5 separate regions of the Homo sapiens genome follow, and regions 1, 2, 3 and 4 are each linked to region 5. Evidence: promoter capture Hi-C in 16 types of primary human blood cells and fetal thymus (Javierre and others, 2016). All regions are on one chromosome and are shown on one strand. Each heading gives the region's core, a stretch centred on a gene start or on the middle of the fragment in contact. The rest is flanking DNA. Distances are from core to core; before and after follow the strand shown.

What was found. Contacts are between HindIII fragments. The CHiCAGO score rates a contact against its expected background, and 5 or more counts as called.
Region 1: a contact is called between a fragment that was not itself captured here and the fragment with the promoter of SNX30 in region 5, in 1 of 17 cell types (naive B cells). The highest score is 5.3, in naive B cells.
Region 2: the fragment with the promoter of SUSD1 here is called in contact with the fragment with the promoter of SNX30 in region 5 in 2 of 17 cell types (megakaryocytes and fetal thymus); the score reaches 6.3 in megakaryocytes.
Region 3: a fragment that was not itself captured here is called in contact with the fragment with the promoter of SNX30 in region 5 in 1 of 17 cell types (fetal thymus); the score reaches 5.4 in fetal thymus.
Region 4: the fragment with the promoter of UGCG here is called in contact with the fragment with the promoter of SNX30 in region 5 in 1 of 17 cell types (fetal thymus); the score reaches 6.0 in fetal thymus.

The regions. Positions count from the first base shown.
Region 1 is chr9:112,045,300-112,049,558 of GRCh38, reverse strand. The region is part of intron 15 of SUSD1 (sushi domain containing 1); the gene reads left to right. Among named protein-coding and RNA genes, the nearest start is that of LINC02977, 7.0 kb to the right of the region's middle. The HindIII fragment of the contact is 2,542 bases long and covers 824-3,365 here.
Region 2 is chr9:112,172,861-112,177,059 of GRCh38, reverse strand. It overlaps SUSD1 (sushi domain containing 1), which reads left to right and starts at 1,763. Exons shown (of 17, transcript NM_022486.5): 1 at 1,763-1,927. The coding sequence starts at 1,825. It also overlaps the pseudogene RPL29P20. RefSeq lists a silencer at 1,645-2,304. The HindIII fragment of the contact is 4,774 bases long and covers 1-3,381 here.
Region 3 is chr9:112,089,709-112,093,988 of GRCh38, reverse strand. The region is part of intron 10 of SUSD1 (sushi domain containing 1); the gene reads left to right. Among named protein-coding and RNA genes, the nearest start is that of LINC02977, 51 kb to the right of the region's middle. RefSeq lists an enhancer at 1,620-2,266. The HindIII fragment of the contact is 3,755 bases long and covers 1-3,672 here.
Region 4 is chr9:111,894,011-111,898,232 of GRCh38, reverse strand. It overlaps UGCG (UDP-glucose ceramide glucosyltransferase), which reads right to left and starts at 1,419. Exons shown (of 9, transcript NM_003358.3): 1 at 920-1,419. The coding sequence starts at 1,017. RefSeq lists silencers at 975-1,064, 1,175-1,764 and an enhancer at 1,385-1,968. The HindIII fragment of the contact is 9,149 bases long and covers 1-4,222 here.
Region 5 is chr9:112,747,856-112,752,034 of GRCh38, reverse strand. SNX30 (sorting nexin family member 30) reads right to left here and starts at 1,275. Exons shown (of 9, transcript NM_001012994.2): 1 at 878-1,275. The coding sequence starts at 1,033. SNX30-DT (SNX30 divergent transcript) reads left to right here and starts at 1,470. Exons shown (of 1, transcript NR_186503.1): 1 at 1,470-3,151. RefSeq lists enhancers at 1-506, 507-1,428 and a silencer at 698-1,517. The HindIII fragment of the contact is 6,629 bases long and covers 1-2,815 here.

The sequences.
Region 1 (4,259 bases), core at 845-3,344, 700 kb after region 5:
TTGCATATTGCCCCTAGAAGAGCTTTGTAAAGATGATCAGGAAACCAGCAGTCGGTTTGATGGAAGATGCAGAGGCCTGGGCTTACTTGCCTGAGTCTTCTGCTACTAATCAGCCAAGTGTCTTTGAAATAGTATTTAACTTGGCCAGTTCTCAGTCGCCCTCTCTCTGGGATCTCTGAGATGCTTTCCAGCCACAGAGTATTATGAGTCTGTGATTTCTTGAGTCACAAAGCAAGGTCATTTGATATATGTGAGATGATAATAAGCTGTAATCGGGGAACATTCTCCAGTCGTAAGCATGAAACCTCTGAGTTATTCGGGACTACTCCTTTTTCTCTTTCAGCCCACATTTAGCACCTTGGGCACGCCTCTCTGATTTTCATTTCTGTGTTCACTCCCTGAGCATAGGCCTTCCTACCTGTAGCAGGGATGACGGGCAAATCCTCCTTCCTCATCTCCCATCACAAGAGTTCAGAATTTCCCTCGTCATTCCAGCCTACACACCACCACCTGACTTGTTTCTAAACTCAGAACTGATTTTGTTTCCTCTGCTTCTGTGGTCCTCCATTATTTTTCAGTTTGGCTTCCAAGTCCTCTATTTGACACAAACATACCCTTCTAATTACATCTTTTATTCTTCTCCATTCAAACCAATGTTCCAGCTGTTTTCTGGCTATGGCCCATGCTTTCTCCTCTTAATGTCCTTGCTCATATAATTACTTGACGACTTCCATCTGGATTTCCTGATCACCCACCTGTGAATCTCTGCTTATCCCACCTGTTTTTCAAGATTAAAATCAAATGCCCTTTCTTCCCTGAAGCTTTTTAAATTTTCTCAACAGGGCAGGATCTGCCCTTCTTTGGCTATTCTGCTATATTTTAGAGCAATGGGTGTGCACTTGTTTTGTCTGTCTTCTACTACTAGATTTTACACCCTTGAAGGGCATTTGAAGAGGAGGAACAGAGCCTGGCATGCATTAGGTGTTCAATCAGAATGCACTGAATTGGGCTGAATGATTACTGAGGAAGCAGCAGTTAGTTTTATGGGAAATGAAGCATAGGAGGTGCAATACTTATCAAATAAGCCAGAGAAGACTTACATCAGGATATAAACCTAGTGTGTATGTATACATATGTATTTACTGTATATGTACATATATGTGTATATATGTACATATATACATGCACACAATCATTTTAAACCTTTATAGTTGTGATGGGAAGAATTCTAATATGGTTCCCAAATTCCTTGTCTTTGGTATACATCTACCTTCTCTCAGTTATTCATTCAAAGACTGTTCTAGGTATTGCTGTGAAGGGATTTTGGAGATGTACTTAAGCTCCCGAATAGGGAGATTATCCAGATAGGCTTGACCTAATCACAGGAGCCCTTTAAATCTGGATCTAGAGGTCAGAGATAGGGGAAGTTGGAGCTTCAAAGAATGAGATGGATTTGACATAGGGAAATTCTCCTGCAGCTTGAAGATGGAGGGGTCCACATGGCAAGGAGTGCAGCTTAACAGAAGGAGCTGAGCAAGGCCTGGCTGCAGCCAGTAAGAAAATGGGGACCCTAGTCCTATAACTGCAAGTGTCTTAGTCTGTTTTGTGTTGCTATAACAGAATACTGGAGGCTGGGTAACTTATTAAGAAAAGAGGTTTATTTAGCTCATGAGTCTGTAGGCTGGGAAGTTCAAGAGCATAGTACTGCATCTGGCCTGCTTCTGGTGAGGGCTACATGCTCACCAGAACAATGGTAGAGAAGTGGAAAAGCCAGCAGGTATATACAAAGAGATCATGTGATGACACAGGAAGCAAGAAAGAGTCTAGGAAGTTGACTCATTTTTATAACAACTAGCTCCCTGGTAATACAGCCCCTCCAGAGCAAGAACTCACTCACCTCTGAGAGAGGGCATTAATCTGTTCATGAGGGCTCCAACCCCATGACCCAAATAGTTCCCACTAGGTCCCAACTCCTGACACCACCACATTGAGGATTAAATTTCAAGTGAGTTTCAGAGGATATAAACTCAAACCATAGCAGCAAGGAACTGAATGTAGCCAATAACCTGAATGAGCTTGGAAGCAGCTTCTTCTCCAGAGCCTCCAGAAAGAAGTTCAGTCCACCTGAGACCTTGATTCTAGCCTCGTAAGGCCCTAATACGGTTTTCTTCTATGTACCCACCCAAATCTCATGTCGAATTGTAATCCCCATGTATTGAAGGAGGGGCCTGGTGGGAGATGACTGAATCATGGGAATGAATTACCCCCTTGCTGTTCTCGTGATAGAGTTCTCATGAGATTTGGTTGTTTGAACGTGTGTAGCACTTCCTCCTTTACTCTCTCTCTCTCCTGCTCTGGCCATGTGAAGACTGTGCCTGCTTCCCCTTCACCTTCTGCCTTGATGGTACATTTCTTGGGGCCTCCCTAGCCTTGCCTCCTGTACACCCTGTGGAACTGTGAGTCAATTAAACCTCTTTTCTTTTAAATTACCCAGTCTCAGGTAGTTCTTTATAGCAGTGTGAGAAGGGACTAATACAGGCCCTGAGCAGAGAACCAGCCACAATGTGCCTGAACTTACCACCCACAGAATTCTGAGCTCATAAATGGGTTAAAGCTACCTAAGTTTGTGGTGATTTGTTAAACTGCAATAAAAATGGAATATAACAGTGTTGCTAATGTATCAAGCATTAATCTTTAAATTAATCTTTAAACTTATCTTTAAATTAGTTTTCCACTTTGATTTCCTTTGCCATCTTTGGCTCTGAATGGAATTCAAGTGAGAAGACCCTAGAATAGCAAAGAGAAATTTAACACAGTAAATAGAAGTCACTGTGCTAATTATTATTTTTATTATTATTTACCATTTGGAGAACAGAATTGGTGCTTTCAGGAAGTGACCATGCCCGTGTATATTCATGAAAAAATGTCCACACCCATGGAGCGTCCTCAAGCTGTCACAAAGTCTGAGAGTAGAAATAGGGCCTTTCTAACTTCCTCTTCAGCATGTGATATTTCTATCAGGGAAGGGGTTAAAGATAAGTCCAGCAAGGCCCCATCACTCCTCCTGAGCACTAGCTCTCTTGAGGGAGCCACCATAAAGAGAATGGTGAAGTTTAGTCTTAATGGACTTACTTTCTCCAAGATTGAGTAACTGATGTGGGATATAACACATGAGTGATTCACTTGGGTTTGTAAAAAAATATTCTACAAGTGATTCAGAAGAAAAATAAACATGGTTCTCTGGCATGAGACCATGGAAAGGTAGGGTAACCAAAGGATGGTGAGGCTATAAAAAATACAATTCAAATTTGCCAGTTGTAAATTTTCTTATTAAGGAATTAATGAGGAAAGTCTCTAAAGAAGCTTGTGTGGCAACACTTGTGAGCACTCTTGATTAGATTGACTCAGATTTTTAGAGTATATATGCAAAGTAGACAAAAAGACATATAACCAGGAACTGATCTACCAGCAAGAATCATTCCTGGAGCCAAACCCAAATTGTGCTATGCAGAATAAATAAAGATCATTTTCCAATACTATGTCTAGAGTAAGGAATAGTTGTGCCCAGGTAGATCCTGCTGGTGGATGGTCAAGTGAAAGTCAGCTTCCTTAACTCCTACTTAGCTTTTGTCCTCTTCGTTTGTGAGGGGATAGTTAGAAGAAAGAAAAGAGCTTGCTACCCTACATAGGTTCAAGTCTTCCAACATGGATGTAGCGTATTCTGGCAGGTTCATACAATTTTCACATGAGATGGATAAACCATTGCAAATGATCTTCAATAAACCTTGAAGAAAATGGAGAGATGTAAGAGGACTAGAGATGAGCAAAGAACAAGGAACTTTGTACAAAGGAAGAACCACCAGAAGTGTAGATGATGGTAACTTGAAGTCAAGGCAAAGCAAGGTCTTCAAGTGATGGCTTGTGTATCCCTGGTAGAAAAAACAGCAGTTCCCGGGAGTCAGGAGCTTTAAGAGCAGATTAGGTCAGATTGCTTTCCATTTCTTCTTGCACAGAGTCAGTAATTGGTCAGGGAAATATGGCACGCATAATAACAATAATGTCCTTGTGGACAATGTGGGGACATGAGAGCTGTATGTGGGCTTAGAAACAAGCTGAATGGCTATGCACAGTTGATATCAACTCATTAACAATTATTGATGAGTTGAAATCAAACCCAAGAATATGCATGATATGGATTTCTGTCCACAGTCATCTTCAGTTCAACATATTCATCAATCAGTGATTAAAATATACAGAGG
Region 2 (4,199 bases), core at 514-3,013, 580 kb after region 5:
AGGAAGATGAGCTTTTTCTTTGTTTGTTTTTGTTTGTTTGTTTTTTTAAGAGAGGGGGTCTCACTGTATTGCCCACATGGGCCTTGAATTCCTGGACTCAAGCAATTCTCCTGCCCTTCAGCCTCTTTAGTAGCTGGGACTACAGGCATGCCACACTTCACCCAGCTTGAAGTTGATTTTTAACTACTTGTTAAGACTCCACAACTTTAGCCCTTATATGGGTGTGTTTGAAAGTGGTGAGATTTACGGCAGGCTCATGGCAGAGAGTAAACAAGTGAGGATATGGGGTGAAGTAGTGGGGTGCCTGCTCTCGGCTGCGCTCCCACAGACATCACAAGCTCAAAGCCTTCAAACCGGATCTTATTTATTTCCTTCTCCCCGACTAGTCATAAAACCTAGTGGATTCCACTCTTACACACTGCCCTCTTCACACTCATTTGTCAATGCCCAGCTGCAGGACACATCTATCTCTATCTCTATCTGTCTGTCTGTCTGTCTGTCTGTCTATCTATCTATCTATCTATCTATCTATCTATCTATCTATCTATCTATCTATCTGTCTATGGAGTCTCACTCTGTCGCCCAGTCCGGAGTGCAGTGGTGCGAGCTCGGCTCACTTCAACCTCCGCCTCCTGGGTTCAAGCAATTCTCTCGCCTCAGCTTTCCGAGTAGCTGGGATTACAGGTGCCTGCCACCGTGCCCACCTAATTTTTTTTTTTTCAGTAGAGACGGGGTTTCACCAAGTTGGCCAGGCTGGTATCGAGCTCCTGACCTCAAGTGATCCACCCGCCTCGACCTCCCAAAGTGTTGGGATTACAGGCGTGAGCCACCGCACCGGGCCAGGACATGTCTTCTATTGCCTGATTCCTGCAGCAACTCCGGGCTGGACTCTTTGCCTTCCACATCCCAACCCAACCCCAATCCCAATTCCACAGAACAGACAGAGATGTGTCAGTGATGAAGTCATTCACTGCTTGAAACTGTGACAGCTTCCCGGCGACCTCCATCACTTGGGTTAGGAGGGCTAACTTCCCTCTGCAGCTCAACGCCCCTCTCCAACCCTCTGCTCTCACTCTAGGTCCCCATTCCCCATTTCTACAACAAACTCCCGCTTAGATTCCTCCCCAACGTCCTTCTCATCCTTGGGTCTTGGTTTACTCCTTCCCTTGGGATGAGTACGGCTGTGATGGAGGTAGGGGCTGGCATCAGCGCGTCCCAAGCCGGGTGTCCTCAGAGCAGCGGGGACTGATGCCAGCCCCTCCCTCCATCACAGCCCTACTCTCTCTCACTCCCGGTGACCAGGTGTCACCTGGTCAAGTGTGTCGCCCCTGGGTGGCCTGGGTCTGCGTCTTCCGACCTCTCATCTGGGCCTTGCGCTGTGGTCACCTCATCCAGCTCCCTTTCACGTCCTGGAAGATTTCCGCCCCTTGCTCCCCTCACCCCTCTCCCCGGGGGTGCCTCCCTGAGCCCTCGAGTGGCTTGAATCCTCCGCAACATTTCCTCCCCAGCACTCTCCGGGGCTCTGCGTCCAGCTGTGTCATTATCCGATGAGTGTCTGTCCCCCTTTGCGAATGTGAGCGGCGAGAGGGCAGCAAGTGCGGAGCCAGAGACGGACGCGGAACGGGCGTGTCCTAAGCCCAGGCCCCGACAAGAGGAAGGACCCGCGCTCTGCGGCCTCCCGGGGACCCCGCAGCGCCCCCCGCTTCCCTCGGCGGCGCCGGAAGCCGCCGGCTGGTCCCCTCCCCGCGGCGCCTGTAGCCTTATCTCTGCACCCTGAGGGCCCCGGGAGGAGGCGCGGGCGCGCCGGGAGGGACCGGCGGCGGCATGGGCCGGGGGCCCTGGGATGCGGGCCCGTCTCGCCGCCTGCTGCCGCTGTTGCTGCTGCTCGGCCTGGCCCGCGGCGCCGCGGGAGCGCCGGGCCCCGACGGTGAGTGCGGGCTGGGACGGGCACGGGCGGCCGGCGGGGCCCCCGGCTGGGCCTCGAGGACTCTGGGCGCACGGACGCTTCCCCGCCCCTGGGCCGGGCCGGCGCGGTGCCGAGGCGTGGGGCGCAGGTGGGGCCCGCGCCGGCCGTTGGAGATCGGCAAGGAGGAGCTCAGAGAAGCGGGGGGCTCCCCGCCGGGCTTCCCTGCCCCCGCCCGACCCCGCGACGCCGGGGGACGCCGGTTTTAAGGCGGCCTGGCCGGGCCCCCAGGGACCTCCACTGCCCAGGAGGCGGGGTGGGGGCTGGGCGCGAGCGCGGACCCGGGCAGGGCGGCGCCCGGGGAAGGGCGGGGAGGCCAGGGCGTTCTGCGGCGCTGTCACGCTTCCGGCTCTGCGGTGGCTTTTGCATGACACATTTTTGACCCGAAGCAATTTTCTTACCACTTTTAATTTTTTCACGTTGTTAGAGAGCCGGATGCTAAATATGGTGAGAAAGACGCGTAAGGAAGAGTACAGGAGTGAAGCCATTAATTCACTCATTCATTCAACAGATGGCCCTTGAACAGCTTCCCTGTGCGCGATGAGGGCGGGCAGTGCGGGCCCTCGTGGAGCTCATTGTCTGGAGGATTTAGACCAGCAAATGTTCTATTTCCAAGCAATCGAGGGAGTTGTTTTTCCTCCTCTGCAAAATGCAGTGTTGAGCTGAGTAGGAATTACACAGAGGATTCAGACACGCAGGGGAGGTGACATTCATCCACATAACTGTAATACAAGGCAGAATGGCATGGGTGCCATGAGAAGGTGTGGGTGGTGAGGGCAGGGAAAGGGGAATCGGTGGTGACCCTTGAGCTGGGCCATCAATGATTGGTCATATTTGGATATGGGAAAATGTGAAAAAGGTATCCCAGCTCATAGCAGAAGGCACTGTCACCTCTCCACAAATGAGTGTAGAATGAATGAATTCCTTCAGAATTCAGGCCCGGGGGAGAAGGGAAGGAAGCACACGGAGGCACCAGAGGCAGAGGGCAGAGTGCCTTGATTGGCAGACCTAGGCCTTTGGACTTAGCTGTGCCTGGAAGCCACTGGAAGCCGTCTCAGGGAGTGACAAGAAAAGTGGGTCTAGCCAGTTCTAGGCGCTTCGGGAGCCACAGGTTACAGTGCAGACATGGCCAAATCCAAGCACCACACCACACACAACCAGTCCCGAAAATGGCACAGAAACGGCATCATGAAACCCGGATCACAAAGATACGAATCTTTTAAAGGGGTGGACCCCAAGTTCCTGACAAACATGCGGTTTGCCAAGAAGCACAATAAGAGGGGCCTAAAGAAGATGCAGGGCGACAGTGCCAAGGCCATGAGTGCACGTGCTGAGGCCTTGCCCTCATAAACCCCAAGGAGGTTAAGCCCAAGATTCCAAAGGGTGTCAGCTCTTGCCTACGTTGCCCACCTCAAGCTTGGGAAACGTGCTCGTGCCCGCATTGCCAAGGGGCTCAGGCTGTGCCAGCCAAAGACCAAGGTCAAGGATCAAACCAAGGCTCAGGCTGCAGCTCCAGCTTCAGTTCCAGCTCAGACTCCCGAAGGAGCTCAGGCCCCTACAAAGCCTTCAGAGTAGAGATCTGTGTCTGCCAACGTGAGGACAGAAGGATTGTCCCCCTTGGACTGCCATCTGCATGGGGCTGATGTCCTCCTTTGCTATTTGTATAAGTAAACTTGAGGCGGGGGAAAGAGGGTCTAAGGAACCCCCATCTTCCTTACTAAAACCAAACGCTGATCCTGAAGTGGAAGGAAATTTCCATGTGATGACATACAAGGAGACTTGTGGTTGAGAATCCTGCCTGCCGCCCCCACCCCCATTCTCTTTGGCTTGGGACTTTTACCATGCCTGATGGGTATTTCAATGGCTTGATCTTCTGGAGTGGCCATTTTTGTAATATTAGGTGCCCTGGTTAAGATTCCTTCCTTGGCTCTATCTCCGAGAACAGTGCGCATAGGACTTGCAGATGCTTGGCGTCTATTTCAGGATCTTCCTGTGATATCTCTAAGGTAGGAAACTGTCCAGTATGATCCCATTGAATTGTTAGACTAAGATGGCTGAACACAGCTAGTAGCTACGTAAGGTCATCTGTAACTAAAGGTTTTGGGGGTGAATTTGGGGAAACAGAAGTCAAGGCTTCCTGGTTGAGCCCCCTCTCCTTATCTAGACATTCTCCCTTCATGTTCAACCTTGGAGAACCTGGTTTTATGAAGGGCAGGTTTCCTGACAGTCGACAATG
Region 3 (4,280 bases), core at 546-3,045, 660 kb after region 5:
CAAAGCTCTTGCAGGCGGAGACATAATAAGAAAAGAAAGACTGAAATAAAAAAAAAGTGGTAGCTAAAATAATTCCATCTGCTCCTGCCTAAAAAGCCTATGTCTTAGAGCTTTGTCTGATTTGCAAAGTTTTCCTGGTAATCAGATATCTACCTACCTCATCTGTTCCTGAATTCCAGCTGCAGAGACCAGGAGCTCTCATCTTCCATCATGGTGCCTTGCTCCGCTGTGGCAGCTCTTATCTTTATACTCAAGGCCCCAGTCAGTATATCTGTCTTTTGCAGGGAGATACTGAATCTTACCTCTCCTTTCCATCTGAGATTAACAGGACAAACAGATAGATAAATGACAAATAGAGGATCAACTTTATTGATCTGGGCAAGTTTCCAGGAACTCTCTCCAAAACTGAATTTCAGGTAAAAGCTATATTGAAGGATGAGGTTTAGCTATTGTGGCCAAGTGGAACTTCCTACTTGCTGGAATTCCCCCTGGAAATATGGGCAGTTGGGTCTGTAAGGGACCCTTGCCTGGCTTACCCACCCAGTCTCAGGCCGAAAAGCAGAGGAAAGGGCGGTGACAGACACTGGGTGCTTACCTCTTGGAGACCGGAGATACCCAGAGTGCTCCTTGTACCTGTGCACAGGCGGGTCCCAGAGAGCAAGTCTGCCTTTTGTTTGGGTGGCAACCTGTAATATATGAACTTATTACTTGGAAATGTGACTCAAGGAATGGCAGTCTCCTACCAATTAGATTACATATTTACTGTTCCTTCCTTGAGGATTAACATATAGGGAATAGGGAGAAGCCAAAATTGCCTTTTCCCTTATGGAATTGGAAAGACAGGTAAATAGCAACCTTTAATACACTCAAGCAAGGTCACTGATCTCTGTAATTATCTTGAACAGGAAAGGTCCATTATAGTTCTAGGAGTCTATGTTAGGAAAGCAATTTAAATTACTTTTAGGTTCCTTCAAATTCATTTGTTTTGAAGGAAAAATTTGTCCAAATTTCTTGGTTAATTTACCATCACTATTTTATTTATTGATCAAATTTTGTGTTCTCATGGACATAGATAGTTTATTCATATACTGAGAGCATGACTTCTTTGATTATTATTTATGTTGCCTTTCTTCTGTTTTATGGTTTCTTTCAATTTTGTTTACGATGTTTTTGACATATAAAAGTTTTAGATTGCTATACAGTCAAATCTATTGATCTTTTCCATTGTGATTCATTACATTGTTATTAAATGTAGAATTTTTTAAAACAAAAGAGTATTTATATTCTGTCTTATTTCTAGGAAAGACTTTAAGTGACCTGCATGGGTATATAAAATAAACGATAATAGGTTAGACGTCTAGGCTAAAGAAGAAAGAAAACAAAAACAGAGACATAAAAAATATAGGAATAAGGTTAAGAATAATTCATGCCCTTATAACCTATTTACTTGTTCATTAGTGCCTCTAAAATTTAGGTTTGAGTTTTCCCATCCAGCCAGAAAGGGAACCATTGCATTGTCCATAATGTTACAACGAAGCAGTGTTTTTCAGAAGCACAATTCTTTTTCAACATTAAGAATCAGTTAGAAATTTCTGATTCCAGGGGGTCTCATAAATAGGACAGTGTCTGAGCAGCATTTTATGAGGATTTTATAAGGCTATTTTTTTGTATTGCCCCTGAACACAGAAAAGCACAATTCAGTGTAGAGTGGCAGAAAAGATGCATTAGAAATGCCTGCTGTTTGCTGATCTGGCTTGATTCAGGGGTAGGATTAGGTTATTTAGATTATTTGGAGGTATGACTGGAGTCCATTTCTTTCAAGCATTGTTTTCTAAATATTGTTTCCCTCAACTGAGATTTGATGAATGTTTGGTGTCACTGAGCTAGCAACTGTTTTCTCTTATAAGTACCCAGGGAGCAATTGTTCTGTGCCACCAATTGAATAACAAGGACTTGTGCTTGAATTGAACGCTGGCCTCCTCTGCTGGAAGGTTGAGCCTGGGGAGCTGAGCCAAGGGAATTGTTTGAATCTGCTCTGCCAATGAATGGGTGATTGAACTCTCAAAATTCCTCTCCTTGTAATATAGTCACAGGTGTTTAGCCTGAAAAATTTCACAGTTGTTCTGACCAGATACCAAATTTGTCTAAAGAAAAATTTCAATAAAATAACAGTAAAGCTCCCAGCTTTGAACCATATTATATCTTGTTGCCCTCTTTAAGATAAACTGCTCCCCAAATGTAAATCAAGGATAACTAAGATGATACCACTATTTATAGAGCAGTTATACAATAGTAACTTTGCTTTCAGGATAGTTGATTTATAGCCATTCTTTATGACAATATTTAGCTTGCAAAGCCAACTGTCTATATAGGCTACTTCTAATTAGAGATTTAAATACCGCTATTATTTATGTACAAAAGAATGTTTTTATTCAGTTCTTTTTAGCAGAAGATTGCATGCATTTAGATATTCCCAAAATAATGTTGGTAAGTTTTAAAAAATCCTACAAGGAGAAGGAACAGAGCACTCTTCCCAGGGAGTAAAGCCCTGGTAGAAAACCATTACTCTTAAGGTGGCTTTCTGCTGCAGGTTTTGAACAGCATGCATAATTTGAGATCTATGTGGACTTTATAAAACTTCCCCCATAATGGATTCCTGTTCACAGAATTAAAGTCCAAACAAAAGATAATTAAGACCATAAATCATTTAATGTTGTTTCTGATATTTTTCCACAGAGTGATAAATATTATAACAGTATTCTGTGGTTGAAGAGTTATGCCTGAAGTCTACCTTCTTTTCTTACAAACCATTAGCCTGAGAAACCCATACTTGTAGTTGGTCAAGCCAGAAATTGGCATATATTTTACATGGAATATACAATCATCTGAATGTGCCAAGTATGGAGAGAGTAGATGTTTGTTCTTTTAACAGATAAGTTAGTGACCTTGTAGATCCAGCTCAGTGGGACCATATCCATTACCTTTACTCATAAAGATGAATAAGTTGCTTAGAATTGGAGCCTTCAGCTAAATGGGTTCTAAGTGGCTCTGAAGGCAATAGATTCATCTCATTCTTTTTAGTACCTTCATTTTCTAATCATGCGTATAGACACAGACTCCAAAACTGTTCTCTCCTAGGCTAGAATCAGAGAAAGGGTCACATACTTTTTAGTCTAAAATATTCCTTAGTGCCATGCAAAGGAAAGCTAACTACAAGATATTTTAACAACTTTTATTTACTTATAATTTTTAAATTTGATATAATTTCAAATTTTTCTCTTTCTTGCACTTCTACCCCTTCCTGTAATATATCCCACTTGGTCATTGTGTATTGTCGTATGTGGCGTTAGATTCTGTTCACTAATATTTTCTTTAGTATTTTTGCACCAATATTTATAAGTAATGTTGGTCTATACTTTTCTCTATTTTTTTTGACACTCTTTATCAGGTTTAAGCATTGGTATTTTCCTTTCTTCATAAAAATAATTTGTAAAGTTTCCTTCATTATTTATGCCCTGGGACAATTCACATAGCATTTGGACTATCTGATTTTGGATGATTTGGTAGAATCCATCAAATTCTATGAAATGATCTGGGTATGGGGCTTTTCTATGGGGTTATTCCTTGATGACATTCTCAATTTTTTTCTATGGAAATTGGTCGGTTTAAGCTTTTTCTGTCTAATGGAGTCAATTTTGGCAAACCAGATTTTGCAAGGAATTACCTATTTCGTCTAAGTTTTAAAATTTATTTGTACACTGATCTGCAAAGTAGTTTCGTTTAACTTTTTGAATTTTCTTCTGTCTCAGTGATCATTTCTCCCTTTATCTTTATTTTCTGCCCCTTTTCTAGATTAAATTAGCTAAGTGGTTTGTTTATTTTATTAGTTTTTCTAAGATTTTGGTTTATTAATTGGATCTACTATTTTTTTTCTGTCTCACAATATCAGGGATTAACAAACTATGACCTGCAGAACAAATCTGGCCTGTCACCTGTTTTCATAAATAGTTTTACTGGAACAAAGGCAGAGTTGAATAGTTGTGACAGAACTGTCAGCCTGGAAAGCCTAAAATATTTACTTATCTGGCCCTTTATAGATAAAACTTCTTGATTCTCGCTCTATATCATTATTTCTGCTTTCTTTTCTTTTCTTTTCTTTTTTTTTTTTTTTTTTTTTGAGATGGAATCTTGCTCTGTCACCCAGGCTGGAGTGCAGTGGCGCGATCTCAGCTCGCTGCAACTTCCGCCTCCCGGGTTCGAGCGATTCTCCTGCTTCAGCC
Region 4 (4,222 bases), core at 170-2,669, 850 kb after region 5:
TTCTTTACAGAGGCAGATTTCACCTTAAACAGTGGATATACCAAACTAGCCACATAACCCATGTCTCTATTCACGCCATCACCCAGTTCTATTTTACTTACACGCTTCGTCACAATCTCATAACCTTATTTAGATTTTATCTGCTCCTTCCTTCTAGAATGTAAGACTCATGAGGACAGGAATTCTGTCCTGCTCACCACCATGTCCCCTGGCCAATAACAGTGAATGGTATCTAGTAGGCCTCAAGAAGTATTTGTTAAACAAAAATGAAAAGATGTGGCCGGCACGGGGAGAGTACAAATCTACATAAAACAATAAAACGAGGAACTGAAAAAAGGAAAGAAAACCACGCTGAGATGTACAAGCTGACAGGACTCAAAGCTATCATGCCAGCTCGGAGGTTTGGTGGACATTTTTCAGGGTGGACAGGTGCTTCACACCTATCTAAGCGCATAGAGCCCTTCCAGGAAGAAGAAAATCCACAGAGAGGTGTCCAGATAGCTGTGAGCAGCTCCCAGAAAAGTGGACACAATCACCACCCTAACAGAAACGTGGCCCAGGTCGGGAGAAAAAAACAATACACCATACATCTCGGCCCAGATGAAAAATTACACGAATCCCCAGCACAATCAAACCAAGCCACCACCTTCAGCCTGACACGTAAGAGCAGTCTCCTTTAGCCTGGCTGGGCAGTCGCCTGCAACCCAGCAAACCCTTCCCACGCCCAACACTTTTCCCTCGCAAAGACCACCGCCACCGCCGGTCCGAGGGGCGAGGGAACGGGGGGAACAGCCTGACGATCAGCTTTCTCCACCCCCGCCCGAGCCCAGTCCCCTTCAAAGCGCAAACGTTTCCCATTCTCGCCTGTCTCCGAGGCCCGGACCCCTGCCCCGAGCCCCTCCTGCGGTCCCTCACTCACGTGTAGATGATAGCCATGAAATGCATCAGCCACAGCACCAAGAAGAGGACGAACCCGAAGACGGCCATTCCCTCCAAGGCCAGGTCCAGCAGCGCCATCCCCCGGCCCGCCGGACCGGCCCGGCCCGCTGCGGCCGCCAACACGGACAACGCTCCCGCAGGAGGAGGACAGGGTGGGCGCCCGGTGCGGGGGCGCGGGAGGCGAGAGGAAGGTGGGGAGAGGAAAGGGCGGAGGGGGGTGGGGACGGAAGGGGCGGGCAGGGCCTGCGCGCCCCCGCCCGCGCGCTCTCGCCTGCGCGCTGTCTTCGGCGCGCTCGCGGGCGGCTGCGGGTGCTGCGGTCTCCCGGCTCTGGTCGGGGCGACCGCGGTCCCGCGCTCCGGTTCGCCTCTCCCGAGCCTCGCGGCCGCCCACCAGACCCTGCGCGCGGGCACCTCCGCCGCCTCTCCGTCTCGCCGCCGGGCTCCCGGCCGAGCAGCTCCACCGCCGCAGCTCCGCGCACTAATCAAAACCGGCGGCTCGCGCCCCACTCCTCGGCGCGTCCCGCCCCCGGAACCGCGGCGCCCGCCTCTCCCAGGGGCGGTGCCCCCATCGGTCCACGCCCACCCTGTCGCCCGCGCGCCCGCTGCGGCGCCGGCGAGAGCGCGCCGGGGAGATCGTGTCCTGCTGCCCGCAGGACGCAGGCCGGGCTTCCTCCGGCTCCTCGCTCCCGCTGCCGCCCACCTAGGCGGAAAGCGCTGCAGCCCTGGGCCGGGCTCCCTCGGTGTCGGTGGCAGCTCGGGACCCTGTGCCTGGCTGGAGGCTGCTCTCTCTCCGTCTGGCCCTGCTGTTCCTGGGTGCCCCAGAAAAAGACACGGGTTCCGGGCAGCTGCCGGAGCTTGTCTAGAAATCCAACTTCCAACGCCGCGTCTGCAGCCTCCCCGCCGGGCACTGCTACTGCTCGGAGCAGCCAGGCCCTCCAGGCCACGTTCCTGGGCGCAAGGGATGCCCATTGCCTTCCCTCTTACTGCTTTTAATGCTGTGGGATCTTGGATCAAAAGGGACCGGAGAGTAAAATAATCTCCATGCGCCTCACAGATCTCTAAGCGCCTTAGCGACCGTGTGTATTATAAAAAGAAATTCTCAAATTCAGAATTAAAGAATCAGTTGATATTGAAATTCCCTAAGACTGCCATCCAATACGGTAGCCGCATGTGGCTAAGTGAGGGTTGGAAAGGCAGCTTGCCACTCTGTGGAGTAAACAGTACACCAGATGTGGAAGACCATCTCGTTAGTAAATTTTATATTGATTGCATGTTGAAAAGGTAATATTTTGGACATACTACATTAAATTAGGTAAATTATTAAGTTAATTTCTCTTTTTAAATACTTTGGCTAGCTACTAGAAAATTTTAATTGTACGTGTGGACAGCACAGCTCTAAAATGGGAAGAAATGTCACTTTGGGTAGTAAGGTAACTAAGTATTTGTCCTAATTTTAAGTCATCCCAAGAAGATGCTAGTACTCAATGTTTGTGTTTCTTCAATCTAGATGAGTTTATACTATTTCTGCATTGTTTTATGTTTATTGTTGCAAGTGATTTCCTTTTAAATAATCCATGACCTCCCTTGAGATATTTCAGAATTGAATTCAATTTTGAAAAGAAGTTGTGGCTGGGCGCGGTGGCTCACACCTGTAGTCCCAGCACTTTGGGAGGCGGAGGCAGGTGGAGCATGAGGTCAGGAGTTCAAGACCGGCCTGGCCTAGATGGTGAAACCCCGTCTCTACTAAAAATACAAAGAATTAGCCGGGCGTGGTGGCAGGCGCCTGTAATCCCAGCTACTCCGGAGGCTGAGGCAGAGAATTGCTTAAACCTGGAGGGGCGGAGGTTGCAGTGAGCCGAGATCGCGCCACTGCACTCCAGCCTGGGCGACAGAGCGAGACTCTGTCTCGAAAAAAAATAGATGAATTTAAAAAAAAGAAAAGAAGTTGTTTATTATTGCTGTTTATGGTAGTTAATAGTCACTGAATGATCTACCTCAATCTGCAATTAAATGACAAACTACAACTAGAAGAGTTAATGTCCGAACCATTCCTCGATTAACATCCTTGGCTCCACTGGTGCAGAATCAGTGGGAAAGAACAATGCTTCAAAATCAAATTCCCACTGTTGAGAGTTACTGGCTGATAAAAATAGCAGGATGGAGGGCCAGGCGCAGTGGCTCATGCCTGTAATCCCAGCAGTTTGGGAGACTCAGGTAGGAGGATTGCTTGAGGCCAGGAGTTTGAGACCAGCCTGGGCAACATGATGAAACCCTGTCTCTACAAAAAAAAAAAAAAAAAAAAATTAGCCAGGCATGGTTATGGCACCTATAGTCCCAGCTACCGGGAAGGCTGAGGTGGTAGGATCACCTGATCCTGGGAAGTGGCGGCTGCAGTGAGCTGTGATCGCGCCACTTAACTCCAGCCTGGGTGACAGTGAGTCCCTGTCTTAAAAAAAAGTGGAATAGAATTCTAACATCGAAATAACGTTCCAAACAAAAATTTACGATTGTAGTTAATTCTAAGGCACACTTCAAAAAAACACTTTAACAAATTTTAATTTCTCTGAAATGGGAATGCATCTCACAGTCAATGCCATCTTAGAGTTAATTGGCGTTTTTTCTTTTTTTTTTTTTTTTTTTTGAGGTGGAGTCTCGCTCTGTCGCCAAGGCTGGAGTGCAGTGGCGTGATCTAGGCTCACAGGAACCTCCGCCTCCTGAGTTCAAGCAATTCTCCTGTCTCACCCTCCCCAGTAGCTGGGACTACATTTGCACACCACCACACCCGGCTAATTTTTGTGTTTTTAGTAGAGACGGGGTTTCACCATATTGTTCAGGCTAGTCTCGAACTCCTGACCTCGTGATCCACCTGCCTCGGCCTCCCAAAGTGCTGGGATTACAGGCGTGAGTCACCGTGCCCAGCCAATGGCTTGTGGTTTTCTTTTACTCAAATATAAAATAATAGTGCATCTTAGTGATATATAAAATAATGCTGCATCTTATCATTAAATGCCCTCTTAGATTTGAGGAACACCAATTGCTTAATTTAAGCATTGTTTTATATTCTGCATTTTTTCAAAAATGTTTTCTGGAACCTTACAACAAAGGATTTTATACAGTATGACCAATAACACAAAAAAAGAGGCCAAAGAAATGTGAAAGTAGATATTCTTAAGAGTTAACAAATTTGCTAAATTGAGTATAATCAGTAGATTAAAGATCAGTTATATTATACTTGACCCTAGTTAAACTATGTTTACCCAAACTTCGTTTTAAAACAGCTTTA
Region 5 (4,179 bases), core at 26-2,525:
ACAATTCTAATTTCTGCAGTTAGTGACTAAGTGACGGCAGGAGCGGGGATACAATCACTGCTCAAGTCTCCTTCACAGCTGAAATGGCCATGGGGGTAGGGAGGAGGTCGTCCCTTACCCCTGCCTGGACTCTGCTGTCTCTCCAAGCAGCAGGAGGGTTGTGCTGCTCTAAGAAAATCTGGAGCCTCCCTCCGTACAAAGAAGGTCAAAGGGCGAGCTTTCTTTCCATCAACCACAAAACCAGCCTCTGCCAAACCTAAACAGAGTGGTAGGCCGTCGGAGGTGAATGGAGCCCCAGACAGAAAACCACAACGAGGCTCTCCTCCCGCCGCCGGCTGGGGTCTGAGTCAGGTGACTCCTCAGGACAAACAGCAAACCTAAACAAAGATCACTCCCCACATGACTGACTAGGGGGAAGAAGACTCTCGCTGTAAGCCCAGGGCTGCCCGGTCCCAGCACGGAAAGCCAGGAACTCCTGCTTTCTGTGCAGTCTCGGAAACTGGAGGAGCTACAAGTTATGCAGCAGCTCAGCCTGCAGGGATGCACCTGGAGGAACTCGGAACCCCATCCGAGGACACAGGCGCCCTGCCCTGAACACACGCCTCCCGCTCCAACACGCAGGCTGGACCCCTCCCCACCAGCTGTCACCGGTGCTTGCGACCAGTCACAGGCAGCGAAGCCTGTCCCTCTGCGGCTGCGACCCCGCGGAGGCGGCAGAGGAGACGCTTCGCCGAGGGCTCCGGGGCCAGGACACGCCCGTCCCCCGGGAAGGGGCGGCAGGGTGGGCGCGGCCCCAGGCCCACGAAGGCTCCGGATCCATCATCCCCCCCACGGGGAGCGAAATAAGCCTCCCACTCCCCGGCCCCAGGCGCCCCACCTTGTCACCGAAGCTGCGGGCCATCAGCAGGTCCGGGCTGGGCGTGCTGTCACCACCCACGGCCTCCTCGCTGCTGGAGCCGGCCAGCGGGTGCGGCATGTCGCGCAGGGAGTGGGGCCCCGTGGACGGCAGGGCCTTGGGGGGCCCGCCCGCCATGGCGCGCACCGCTCGGGACGCGCCGCCGCCGCTTCCTCCTGCTGCCCGCCGCGGCGAGCTCCCCGAGCACCCCGGGCCGAGCCCCGCTCGGCCGCCGCTTAACCCGAGGCCTTGCACCGGCCGTGCTGGGGGCCGCCGCCACCCGCCGGCTGGTCTCTGCCGGCGCTCAGACGCTCCGCTCCGCGCCGCGCGCCCCCGCTCCGCGCCCGAGCCCGCCGCGGGTCCGCTGGCAGCACGGCCGCGGCGCCCAGCCCACACAGCCACACCGCCCACCCGCTCCGGCCCCGCCCCCGAGGCGCCGCGGCCGCCCGGGAGGGGGCGGGGAGGGCGGGGAAGGGGCACGTGGGGAAGGAAGGACGGAGGGAGGGAGGGAGGAGGCGCGGCCCCGCCCCCGCCCGGCAGGAAGTGCGCCCTGGGCCTCTGCGGCTGTCCTCCCAGTGTCCAACGTTGCCTCGCGGAGGCCGCCGTGCGGAGCAAATGTCTAACGGAAATCAGAGGTGGAAAAGAGGTTGGAGGAGCCTGTTCCGTTCCACCCGCGTTTACTGATGCGCCCACCAGCAGCCACGCTTGGGGCTGGGGGCTTTGAGGACACGCACGTGAGTCAGGGTCTTCTGGCCTCTAAGGCACGCGCAGGAAGAACCCTAGATAGACGGAATTACGACCCATATCGGAAGAATAGCATAAAGGGCGACAAGGCTCAAATGAGCTAGAGGACATCGGGTGGGGAACCTGGAAGGGACTTCAAAGAGGCGGTGTGGGGAGTCTTCAGGCTCACTCTGAGGTCCCCATTGTGGCTTGCTTCTGCAGCTGAGCTGGATTTGTGTAAAGTCAAACCTCAGAACAGCGAGCATGAGTAGAGAGTCTCAAATGATATGCGACTCTTCAACTCACACTTTGGCCGAAGAGACTTTTGAAAGAACCATGAGGTTCAAGTTATTCTTCATGCATTTGTGCTTCCTTTCCAGGCCTTGGGCTGAGCTGATTCTCAGCTTTATTTGCTGGCGTGGTGCAAATAGTCAAGGTGTTACTTCCAGCCCTTTGGGGTGTAGGTTCACCTCCTTTTTCCACCTTACCTGTCCCTAGATCTTCTGTTTCCAAGGCCAAGTCTTTAAAGGGTTTTCAGTCCCTCTAGCAAAGTAATGGGTAGGGAGGCTCATCGTGAGGGACCACATTTTCCCTACCCATTCCAAACTCAAAGGTTTGCCTAGCCTTACCTGCTAAAAGGTGATGACAGATGTTGACTCTGGGATTCACTAAGGCCTCTACCACAGTTTTCTCTAGAAACAAATAGAAGAGAATGCAGAGGGTTGAAATCTACCCAAAATATCAGTCAGAGACTCTGAGCTTCAAAGACCTTCCCCTATTTCCCCCAATGTAATTTATATAGGGTTGGACCCTTAGTCCTCAAGCTATCATCTTTATCTCCTCCACATAAGCCTGCCTTGGCTGGGAAAAGTAGCATTCAAAGGGCACTGGGAACAATTTTAAATGCTGCATCTAAGGAATGCCAAGTTCTGGTCCTCTTGGAGTTGGATTAAAATTGTTAACACTTTCACATTCAAGGGCTGCTTACAACTACTACAGACCCTATTATCTGTTCTTCTGAATTAGCATGAAAATGAATAGCACAATATAACTAGAAATGAGTATTTCTAGAAATGAGTATATACATCTATAGATGTATAACATCGGTTTTTCTTATTGAATGGTGCTACTTATTTTAACAACCAGGCTGCCTTAAATATAATGGACATCCGTATGGATTAAGACTCTATACAAGCTTTCTCTTTAGTACACCAGGGGAAAGTGAAAAAAGAACCACATTTGAATTCGGCTTTGTCACTACAAGTGGGTGACCATGAGCAAGTTACTAACCTCAGTGAACCTGTTCCTAACCTAAAAAGGAGGAGAATGGAGAGCAGGTAATAATACCTTATGAGATGGTTGTGAGAGTTATATAGCATTCTTTATGTCATAGTCCTAGCAAAGTGCTGGCATAAAATAGGTGCTCCCTAAATGTTAATTACCTACCTTCCTTTCCCTTTCTGTCAGATTTTCTCTACTATTCTTATGAAATAATAAAGAGTTTTTGTAATTAAATATGCTTTACTATTCTGAGTAGGGTCTGGTTGAATATACATATATATACACACACATACACACCAGGTAGGGTGCCTCACACCTGTAATCCCAGCACTTTGGGAGGCCAAGGTGGGAGGATCACTTGAGCCCATAAGTTCAAGACCAGCTTGGGCAACATAGTGAGAGCCCCATCTCTATAAAAAATGTAAAAATTAGTCCGGCATGGTGGCACATACCTGTAGTCCCAGCTACCCAAGAGGCTGAGGTGGAAGGATTGCTTGAGCCTGGGAGGTTGAGGGTGCAATGAGCTGAGATTGCACCACTGTACTTCAGCCTGGGCAACAGAAGGAGACCTTGTCTCAAAATAAAAAAAAATATATATATATATACATATATATGTGTGTGTACATATATATGTGTGTATATGTGTGTGTGTGTGTGTGTGTGTGTATTGACCTCCAAAGTCCTCCATTTGCTCAGTTTAGATTGGAGTACCACTTTTCTATGCTCCCACCAAAAAAAGGACCCAGACCCAGAGTTCCTAAAAGGCCATATGAAATAGTTGATTACAGTTTATTTATTTATTTTCCAGTTTCCTGGTTGGTCGATAGCAGCTGGCCACAATATCCAGTGGGTAGTCATCAAAACTAAAGAAAGTGAATTTGTATGGAAAGTATTTTGGTAGAAAGTTTCCACGATGAAATTTAGCCCAGCCCTGCCCATTCATATTCACCATTTCCTGTGGTATTTCAGTGTTCCTTGTGGTGGGAAATTGTCACTGAAATAATATAAGTGTCCCAGAGCATGTGACTTTGCTTCTACTAAAAGGTTTTGTTTTTTTTTTTTTTTTTTCTTGGAGACAGGGCCTTGCTCTGTCGCCCAGGCTGGAGTGCAGTGGCGCAATCTCAGCTCACTGCAACCTCCGCCTCCCAGGTTCAAGCGATTCTCCTGCCTCAGCCTCCACAGTAGCTGGGATTACAGGTGTGTGCCACCATGCCCGGCTAATTTTTGTATTTTTAGTAGAGACAGGGTTTCACCATGTTGTCCAGGCTGGTCTCAAACTC